Regions from separate parts of the Homo sapiens genome. Here all the other regions are linked to region 3. The links are contacts of gene promoters, found by promoter capture Hi-C in human tissues and cell types (Jung and others, 2019). All regions are on one chromosome and are shown on one strand. The core of a region is centred on a gene start or on the middle of the fragment in contact, and the rest is flanking DNA. Distances in the headings are between cores, read along the strand shown.

Region 1 (3,162 bases), core at 600-3,099, 450 kb before region 3:
TGCACGGTCTCCAGCTCTGCCTTCCTCAGGGCCTTGCTGGCATCATCCAGCTGTGCGCGGAGCCCACTGGCTTCTGAGCGGAGCAGCTGTTTGACCTGGAGAGCGGCCTGGAGGCTGGCATTCAGCTTTTCCTGATCTTGAAGCAGCATGTCCGTCTCTAACTGCAGATTTCTGTTGTTCTGAAGAACATTATCTCGTTCTACCTTTAAGGCTATGCACGTGTTATCGAGATTGGACAATTTCTCTAAAGCTGACTTTTTCTCAGCTGTGAGATCTTCAGTCTCCTGTACCAAAGCTTTCTGATCTTTGACTAGCTCCTCATAAGACCTTTGAAGCTTCTGAATGATGTCATCCTTATCTTTGGCCAAGATGAAGTTTTCGGTAATAAGTTTCTTGATCTGGTCCTCCAGGTGATCTTTTTCTTCCTGGTCCTTCTCAGTCTTAGCAATCAAAGTATCTTTGCTGAGCTGGAGCTCTTCAATGAGTGCCTGCATGCTCACCTTGGAAGCTTGCAAAGAGTCATTTTCCACATTTATCTTCAAGAGTTCTTCCTGTACAACATTGATTTCTTTAAGCAATTTCTCTCTCTCAACAGCCAAAGCTTCTTTATTGAGATGTTCCTGCTCATAATACTTTTCGGCATCTTGCTTTTCTTCTAAGAATTTCTCCTTTTCTAAATTAAGAGTTTCATTCACTGACCACAGTTTCTGCTGGTCTCCCTGAAGTAAAGCTATTTTGGCCTCCAATTCTACAAGCTTGGATAAAAGTGAACCGTTTTCTAACTTTAAATCATTTCCCTCCTGAGAAAGAAGCTGCTTCTCTGATTTCAGACCCCTCAGCTCTTCTGACATTAGTTCAATTTCTTTTTTGGCTGATGTTAACAAATAAGTTAGCGACTACAGAAACAAAAGATGGAAAGAATGGAAACAAAAATGAAATCAAGCAGACAAATGCAAGCCCAAATAACTTAATGTAACCTAAATGATAAAAACTTTACAATTTCTACAATAAACTTTATAGAAACTATCTGAATAACAAGGGAAAGAAACTAAACAGAGCCCATAAAAAGGTAAGTCAAAAGTGTAGTTTTGCAAAGTGCTTCTGTATCTGTTAGCTTATTTTATCTTTGAAACAACTTGTGAAATTATTCCCAGTAGCTACCTAGAAGATAAAAATAGTAGCTTGATTTTAATATCAGGGCATAAGATTCTTTCCTGCCATTCCAATTATCAAATTACTTTGAAAGCAGAAAGGATTCATAGAACAATTTTTAAAAATACAATTAAAAGAAGTACAAAAACTCAGTATATTTTAATGAAAAAAGGAAGGGGCATAACAAGGGAAAATAAACTACTGCCTTCCAAACTCACCACAGGACCTTACTTAAGGGTAGCTGAGGGGCTGAGAGTGATTTAGTCCCAATATCACATATAACTTAAAAACTACAGCCTAATTTCTAGGCTTTGCTGACTAAAAGGAATAGTTTTTTTTTTTTATTTACTGAATTATAAGATAATTTGACCACAGTGTCTATACCAGTGCTATCCAGAACTTTCTGCAATGATATAATTTTTTTTTTTTTTTTTTGAGACTGAGTCTCGCTCTATCTATTGCCCAGGCTGGAGTGCAATGGTGCGATCTTGGCTCACTGCAACCTCCGCCTCTGGGTTCAAGCTATTCTCATGCCTCAGCCTCCCAAGTAGCTGGGATTACAAGGCTCCGCCACCGTGCCCGGCTAATTTTTGTATTTTTAGTAGAGACGGGGTTTCACCATGTTGGCCAGGCTGGTCTCAAACTCCTGACCCCAAGTGATCCACCCACCTAGGCCTCCCGAAGTGCTGGGATTACAGGCATGAGCCACCACGCCCAGCTGATATAAATGTTCTTATTTGCACTCCCATCATGGTGACCATATGACTACTGAGCACCTGAAATGTGGTGAGTGCAACTGAGGAGCTAAATTTTTAATTAAAATGTAACAAATTTAAATTTATTTATTTATTTATTTATTTTGGAGGCAGAGTCTCACTCTGTGGCCCAGGCTGGAGGGAAGTGGCGCGATCTCGGCTCACTGCAACCTCTGCCTCCCAGTTTCAAGCGATCCTCTTTTAAGCATATACAAAAATAGAGAAAATAATGTAGACCGCATATATTCCCATATTAAGGTTTTTATTTTTATTTATTTTTTGAGACAGTCTCACTCTGTCACCCAGGCCAGAGTGCAGTGGCACCATCTCAGCTCACTGCAGCCTCCGCCTCCCAGGCTCAAAGGATTCTCCTGCCTCAGCCTCCTGAGTAGCTGGGACTACAGGTGTGTGCCACCACACCCAATTAATTTTTTGTATTTGTAGTAGAGACGGTCTCACGATGTTGTCCAGGGTGGTCTCAAACTCCTGTGCTCAGGCAATCTGCCCACCTTGGCCTCCCAAAGTGCTAGGATTACAGGCGTGAGCCACCAGAACTGGCTACAAATTTACATTTGAATGGCCTCACATGGCTGGTGGCTACTACATTAGGCAGCACAGCTATAGCCCACTGGCTCTTAAAAGTAGGGAATAGGAGGCTTCATGGGTTCCAGGAACCTTGTTGAGTGCACACGTAAACTTTCCTGAAAAAATATCTGTAGATTTCATTAGATTATTCCAAAGAGTCTGGGACTGATTACGATCCACTGAAATTAGATACTAGACACGTTTGGAGGGGAACAGTCCTGGCATTTTTAACTCAATGACTCTTGCACAAAACCAACCAACAAAATCAGTGAGACTGGCCAGGAATGGTGGCTCATGCCTGCAATCCCAGCACCTTGTGAGACTGGCCAGGAATGGTGGCTCACGCCTGCAACCCCAGCGCCTTGTGAGACTGGCCAGGAATGGTGGCTCACGCCTGCAACCCCAGCGCCTTGTGAGACTGGCCAGGAACGATGAATCACGCCTGCAATCCCAGCACCTTGGGAAGCTGAAGCAGGTGGATCGCTTGCATCCAGGGGTTCGAGACCAGCCTGAGCAACATAGCGAGACTCTGTCTCTACAAAAAATAAAAAATTAGCCAGGTGTAGTGGCACGTGCTTTTAGTCTCAGCTACTTGGGAAGCTGAGGCAAGGGGATCACTTGAGCCCGAGAGGTTGAGGCTGCAGTGAGCCATGACTGTGCCGCTGCACTC
Region 2 (3,135 bases), core at 510-3,009, 340 kb after region 3:
GTAACAATAAATACTTTATGGACAAATGAGTGGAGCAGAACAATTCCTGAAGACATTTTAGGTCTAAGTGAAGACCTTCGGATGAGGTGAGCTGCAAGGCCATGGTCTCTGCAAAGCCACTGCACTCTGGAATGCAGTTGTTAAGAAGGAATAGAACCTCCTTCCTGTAAGAAAGGAGACAGGAGACCAAGGCTGTGTTGAAGCAGCGTCCCTCAGAGCAATGTCAGTGCTCAGGCCATGCAGGGCAGAAGAGCTCTCACCGGGCCCTGCCTCGACTTGGCAGCCAAGACCTTTGGCAACAGGACAACCACGAGGCCCCAACCCCGCAGAACCCGAGTGACCCCTGGAGAAGCTGCAAGTCAGGGCTGAGTGTTACTATGTGCCCTCCCCTACATCCACTCCCAGTAGCTGGGACACCTTGGAAAGTGAATTAAAACAAAACAGAAAAACAAAAAATACAACATAGCACTCTCTCTTCTTAGCACTTGGAGGCCTTTTCACAGCAACTGAAAAGAATGAGCAATTAGAGAAGATAACAGTCCACGGTGCCAGCCTGGAACTACGGAGCCACAGAGGCAACTTAAGAGGCCCCATCACAACGTGCCCTATCTTCCCAGCAAGGATGAGGGCACCCGGAGAAGGGAAGGGACTTACCCGAGATCAGACAGCAAGTAACAGTTGAGCCTGGGCTGAACCAAGGGCCCTGTGAGTCACAGGCCAAATTTGAAAAACCATGCCATGTGCTTCCAGGTCTAGACTCGGGGTCCAATCCCAATCCCACCACTGACTAGCTGTGCAACCTGGAGCTGATATCTGCCATCTCTGAGCCTCGGCTTCCTGTGTAAAAAGGGACCCTAACAGGCACTGCTCATGGTTACTGTGGGACTTAGCCCCATGCAGCAGGGGCTGGGTACATTAAACCTACCCCCACCAGCATCCTCACCTCAGCTTTGCTAGCTTCCCTTGATGGAACATCCATCCTCCGTGCCTCCAAAGCTGAAACTAGCCAATGAGTGAACAGGAGAAGGGTTCATCAACATTTAGGAAAAAAAGAAGGAAAAATCACTTTACCTCCTGTTCCACCCAACAAAGGCCTTGGCATGGAAAATGGGGCCAAGGCCAGGGATTGTGCCTGAGACAAAGAAATACGAAATGGAAAGAAGCTTGGGAGGCCAGGGGCTCCTGCTGCCAGCTGGGGGTGGGAGGGGAGAGACTGCTACTCCCTGGGCCATTCAATCTCTAGACCTGGCACTCCCTGAGACTCAAGACAGAGGCTCAGGCCCACCCTCCACTCAGCCTTGGCTTCTCACTGTACATCCAGAGGGATGGTGCATTAAAAACCACACTCATGCTTGTTTCTGGGCCACTGACCATGACTTGCGGGCAGCTGAGCAAGGCAGCAGCCCAGCCTCTGCTCTCTGCCAAAGCCAGCGAGTAGCCAGAGCCTGAGCTTCCCAGCCAAGGCACAGAAGAAGCATAACTCCTGCCTGTCCTCTTCCATGTACTAAGGGTAGAGCAGGCCAGGCTAAGCCTCAAGAGCAAACAGAAAAGAGCCACTCTGGGGTGCTCTATAAACAGGAGAATAGCAGCCGTTGGGGCCTCAAAGGCTGACCCAAGCAGTTTTTATCCTATTTGGAATCGAAAGCTACCAGAGGCAGAACATCGGTCTTTCGTATTTAGTGAAAAGAAGTCAATATTTGCAAAAGCGTAATCAATAAATACAATCTACCCCACATTAATCAGATAAAGTCAGGTTTATAGTGTCTTTTTAAGAGACGGGGTCTCACTGTGTTACTCAGGCTGGAGTGAAGTAGTGCGACCATGGCTTACTGCAGCCTCGAACTCCTGGGCTCAAGTGATCGTCCTACATCAGCCTCCCCAGTAGCTGGGACTATAGGCATGTGGCACCTCACCCAGTTAATTTTTTTTTTCAGAGATATGCAGTCTCACTATGTTGCCGAGGCTGTCTTGAAATCCTGGCCTCCAGTGATCCTCCTGCCTTAGCCTCCCAAAGTGCTGGGATTACAGGTGTGAGCCACTGCGCCCAACAATAGTCCGGTTTTTAGGGGAAAAGGGAAACAGCAATAAAGTCTCCGTACCCTCAAACTCCAAAGGCCAGGGTGGCCTGCAGGGCCTCAGCTCTGGGAAGTAGGGTGCTACTGCACAGGTGGACGGCCTTACCTGTGGGTCTGAGAAGGCTCCACTGATGTCCCTGTCAAAGGAGGAGAAATGGGTCCCTAGGCTCACAGAAGGTTGTTGAGGACCAGGACACACGTGCCAGCATCCTGCAGGGAGAAGCACAATGGGAGAGGAGGTGAGACACCTGGACTCTGATCACTCCACACCAATCCAACTGGGAGACCCACAATGCCGATGGACCAAGAGGATTGAACAGGGGACATCTGACTAAAGGTGTCTCCATTTTACAAAGGGACCCAGCCCAGGACGATTCAGGAAGCAAGTGTCTAACTCAGAATTGGTGACAGATACACCCCAACATTGCCCGGCACCCCTTCTACTTAGGAAAACTGCTCAGGGAGTGGGAACTGAGACCACCAGCACACACCATAAGCCATCCTATTTTCAAAGGCCCCTGGAGCTCTGTCTCAAACCTTGATTTTTCACTCATGAACCCCACTGGGATTGGAGGACTTCAGACCGCAGAGAGGAGGCTGGAAAATGAGGTAATGCAGGAAGAAGAGTGGGAGACACAGTCCGAGAGGATGGCGTCCTGATGCCGGGACAGGGGCATGGTCATATTGTGGGGTGATGCAAATGGCTTCCAGCCTTCCAGCAAGCCCCTCCAGCTGGGCAGAGTGTGATCTGACTACCCAGAGGCCAGAGACAAGCATTCAAAACAAAATGAAAAAGGTGGAGAAATGGATTTCCAAAGAGTCGCAGGTCCAACAGCCTCAGAGATGACAAAGTCTTCACAGGTACCACTGAAGCCACTACCCAACCCAGGGCTCCTACAGGGACCACAGACAAGCCGGGTAGCCCACCTCGCAGCTCAACACACATTCTTGTTTGCCTGACACACATACAAGCCTCCTGACCCTGGGCCCAGAGAGCAGGTAGCAGCCTACAGGGCTCTCCAATGACCATGACAGAGAGGCTGCTTATCTGCTGGCTATG
Region 3 (3,222 bases), core at 392-2,891:
TTTCGTTGTATTGGCTAGGCTGGTCTCAAACTTCTAATCTCATGATCCATCCTCCTCGGCCTCTCAAAGTGCTGGGATTACAGGCGTGAGCCACCACGTCTGGCCTGATTTTTGTTTTTTTGAGTCAAGGTCTCACTCTCGATCGGACTGGAATGCAGTGGCATGATCACAGCTCATTGGAGCCGCCATCTCCCAGCTCAAGTCAGCCTCGTGAGTAGCTGAGACCACAGGAGTGCACCACCACGCCCAGTTTAAAAAAAAATTTATTTTTTGGCCAGGTGCGGTAGCTCACACCTGTAATCCCAGCACTTTGGGAGGCTGAAGTGGGTGGGTCAACTGAGGTCAGGAGTTCGCGACCAGCCTGGCCAAGGTAGTGAAACCCATCTCTACTAAAAATACAACAAAGGTGGCGTGGTGGCGGGCACCTGTAATCCCAGCTACTCGGGAGGCTGAGGCAGGAGATTTGCTTGAGGCCAGAGGCAGAGTTTGCAGTGAGCCGAGATTGTGCCATTGCACTCCAGCTCAGGCAACAAGAGCCAGACTCCATCTCAAAAAAAAAAAAAAAAAAAGTTTTTTAGAGGTGGGTGTCACCATGTTGCTCAGGCTGGTCTCAAACTCCTGAACGCAACAGATCCTCCTACATTGGCCTCCCAAAGTGCTGGGGTTACAGGCCACTGCGCCCAGCTTTCTTGATTTTAAATTCTAAGACATTGCTTTGGTCTCCCAAACATGAGCCTATCAGTAAAGCTTCAAAATAAGAAATCTTAATTTTGTTTTTCCATTTTCAGATTGTATTTTTTGAACACAAGGGCATGTTTTGGCATTTCATATTCAACCAAAAAGTAAAGTTGAAACCCTGTAAGACCGACCGTATTTAGTAATTGTGTTGCTGTCTGATGGGTTAAGCATTCAGGGATGGGCAGCCGGGGCTGAAGTGTGATAAGCCTTATTTTTTCCTAGTCCCGTTCCCACATCTTAGGAAGAGTGAAAGGGGGATGAAGAGGTGACTATGGAAGAACAGGTGAAAAAGCTTAGATTCAACCCAGAATATCGTAGATTTTGTCATGACAAAGTACCGTGGTTCTCCTCATTGCTTTTCAGGAGCTCCCAAGAGTAAATTTCCCCCTCTTCATCTGTGATTCTTGGTTTAAAGTATCAAAGGTGCTAGGGTAGCCCGCAACTGTTATCCCCGAGGGCTGGGCTCTGCCTCCACGCATTCGAGTGTCAGGTCCTGTTCTGGGAGCCAGCTACACAGGAGCGAGCACGGCCGAGCTCACGGTTATTAGGGGGAAGATGGAAGATAGGGAAGTGAGCAACTCAAATGTCATAAACCAGAGTGCTGGGGGCGGCGCAGCAGCCTTTATTGACTTCTTCATTCTCTGGGTAGTGGTGAACAGCCGGTTCTTTCAGGCCTTCCAGCGCCGGAGCCTCGGGCGTGGGCAAAAAGCGTCCATACGCAGCCTGAGCCACTTGGGAGCCCCCAGTTTCCGAGGCAGAAGAACAGTGCCCACCAGCGCAGCGGGGCTGCGGCCCGGAAACCCTGGCGGGGAGCCCCGAGCCCCGGCGGGCGCACGCCGCGTGGGCACCAGGCAGGCGGTTGGAGTACGGGGCGGGGGTCGGCCGAGGGCGCGGGGCCCCGGGGCTCCGGGCTCGCCCCCGCCGCTCGGGGCAGGCGCGCCGATGGCGTTTCTGAGGTGACGCCGCCCACACCGGGCTTCTCCGGGGGCGGAGGAAACACCTATGAACCCTCCGGCAGCCTTCCTTGCCGGGCGCCAGGTAAGCAGCGGTTCCGGGCGCGGCGGGGCGCCGCGGGAACGGTGCACATTGGTCGAAATCTATTGCTTCTCAAGAACGGTGTCTACTTAAAATGTGAAACAGGCCGGGCGCGGTGGCTCACGCCTGTAATCCCAGCGCTTTGGGAGGCGGAGGCGGGCGGATCACGAGGTCAGGAGATCGAGACCATCCTGGCTAACACAGTGAAACCCCGTCTCTACTAAAAATAAAAAAAAAAAAATTAGCCGGGCGTGGCGGCGGGCGCCTGTAATCCCAGCTACTCGGGAGGCTGAGGCAGGAGAATGGCGTGAACCCGGGAGGCAGAGCTTGCAGTGAGCCGAGATCGCGCCACTGCACTCCAGCCTGGGCGACAGAGCGAGACTCCGTCTCAAAAAAAAAAAAAAAAAAAAAAAGTGAAACAATACACTAGAGGAAAACGGCGTCACGACCGTTTCCTTAACCCAATAACACCTTGTTATTCAGCCCGGGCCACAGAGTAGCGCGTACCCGGTGCTTACTGTTTAAGGAGGACGATTGGCGTCTGGGGAGCTGCTTTCCCATTTACCTCTCAGGGTGTCCTTAATTTACACAACCTGGCGAGTAGAGGAAGGAGCTCTCACAACTCCACTGTACCAAAAAGTCTGGAAGTGGGCTTGCCCAAGGTTCGCGTCCATCAGTGTAAGACGACCTGCCTTTGTGTACTCGGCTTACTGCCTGTTTTCCTGGAGTGGAATATGTGCTCCTTGCCTGGAGGTCTGTGGCCCAGCCACTGGCGCTCAATAAATTATTTGTTGAGTGCATGAATGAAGGGCTAACCCAACACTGGAATTCAAGCCTTGGGACTTGAAATCCCTTGACTCCAAATTCCATTTTCCTTGTTAAGACTAGCAACTGTAATTTATTCATCATTCTTATTTATTTATTTTTGAGACAGGGTCTGGCTCTGTCCCCAGGGCTGGAGTACAGTGACGCAATGTCGGCTTACTGCAGCCTCTGCTTCCCGAGTTCAAGCAATCCTCCCGCCTCAGCCTCCCAAATAGCTGGGACTACAGGCTCCCACCACCATGCCGAGCTAATTTTTGTGTTTTTAGTAGAGACAGGGTTTCGCCATGTTGGCCAGGCTGGTCTCGAACTCCCGACCTCAGGTGATCTGCCCACCTCGGCCTTCCAAAGTGCTGGGATTACAGGCGTGAGCCACTGAGCCCAACCTCATTATTCTTGTTTATTTACAAATCTTACTTTTCAAAAAGCAGTAAGGAGGTACAAAGGGCCTCTGTTGAACCTTTAATTACTGTCTTTAAGGTGGAACTCTATTAAAGTAACACTTTTAGTTGTTTATTTCATAGGCAGGGACAGCACCATGATTTGAAATGTGGTTTACAGTGTTAATGAGAGCTGATGTTTGTTGAGTGATTACAACGGGCCAGGCTTTGTGCTCAGTACTTTACA

Evidence for each region. Contacts are between HindIII fragments. The study calls those that stand out against the background at their distance.
Region 1: a fragment that was not itself captured here is called in contact with the fragment with the promoter of CCDC62 in region 3 in 2 of the 25 tissues and cell types used here (lymphoblastoid cells and stomach).
Region 2: a contact is called between a fragment that was not itself captured here and the fragment with the promoter of CCDC62 in region 3, in 1 of the 25 tissues and cell types used here (bladder).

The regions. Positions count from the first base shown.
Region 1 is chr12:122,323,486-122,326,647 of GRCh38, forward strand. All of the region lies in intron 17 of CLIP1 (CAP-Gly domain containing linker protein 1), which reads right to left. It also overlaps the pseudogene CCDC150P1. Among named protein-coding and RNA genes, the nearest start is that of VPS33A, 59 kb to the left of the region's middle. The HindIII fragment of the contact is 8,257 bases long and covers 1-3,162 here.
Region 2 is chr12:123,108,204-123,111,338 of GRCh38, forward strand. It overlaps PITPNM2 (phosphatidylinositol transfer protein membrane associated 2), which reads right to left. Exons shown (of 26, transcript NM_020845.3): 2 at 2,182-2,285. Among named protein-coding and RNA genes, the nearest start is that of PITPNM2-AS1, 28 kb to the left of the region's middle. The HindIII fragment of the contact is 5,617 bases long and covers 1-3,135 here.
Region 3 is chr12:122,772,931-122,776,152 of GRCh38, forward strand. CCDC62 (coiled-coil domain containing 62) reads left to right here and starts at 1,642. Exons shown (of 13, transcript NM_201435.5): 1 at 1,642-1,776. The coding sequence starts at 1,741. RefSeq lists silencers at 1,480-1,689, 2,212-2,506 and enhancers at 1,789-2,482, 1,870-2,009. The HindIII fragment of the contact is 10,219 bases long and covers 1-3,222 here.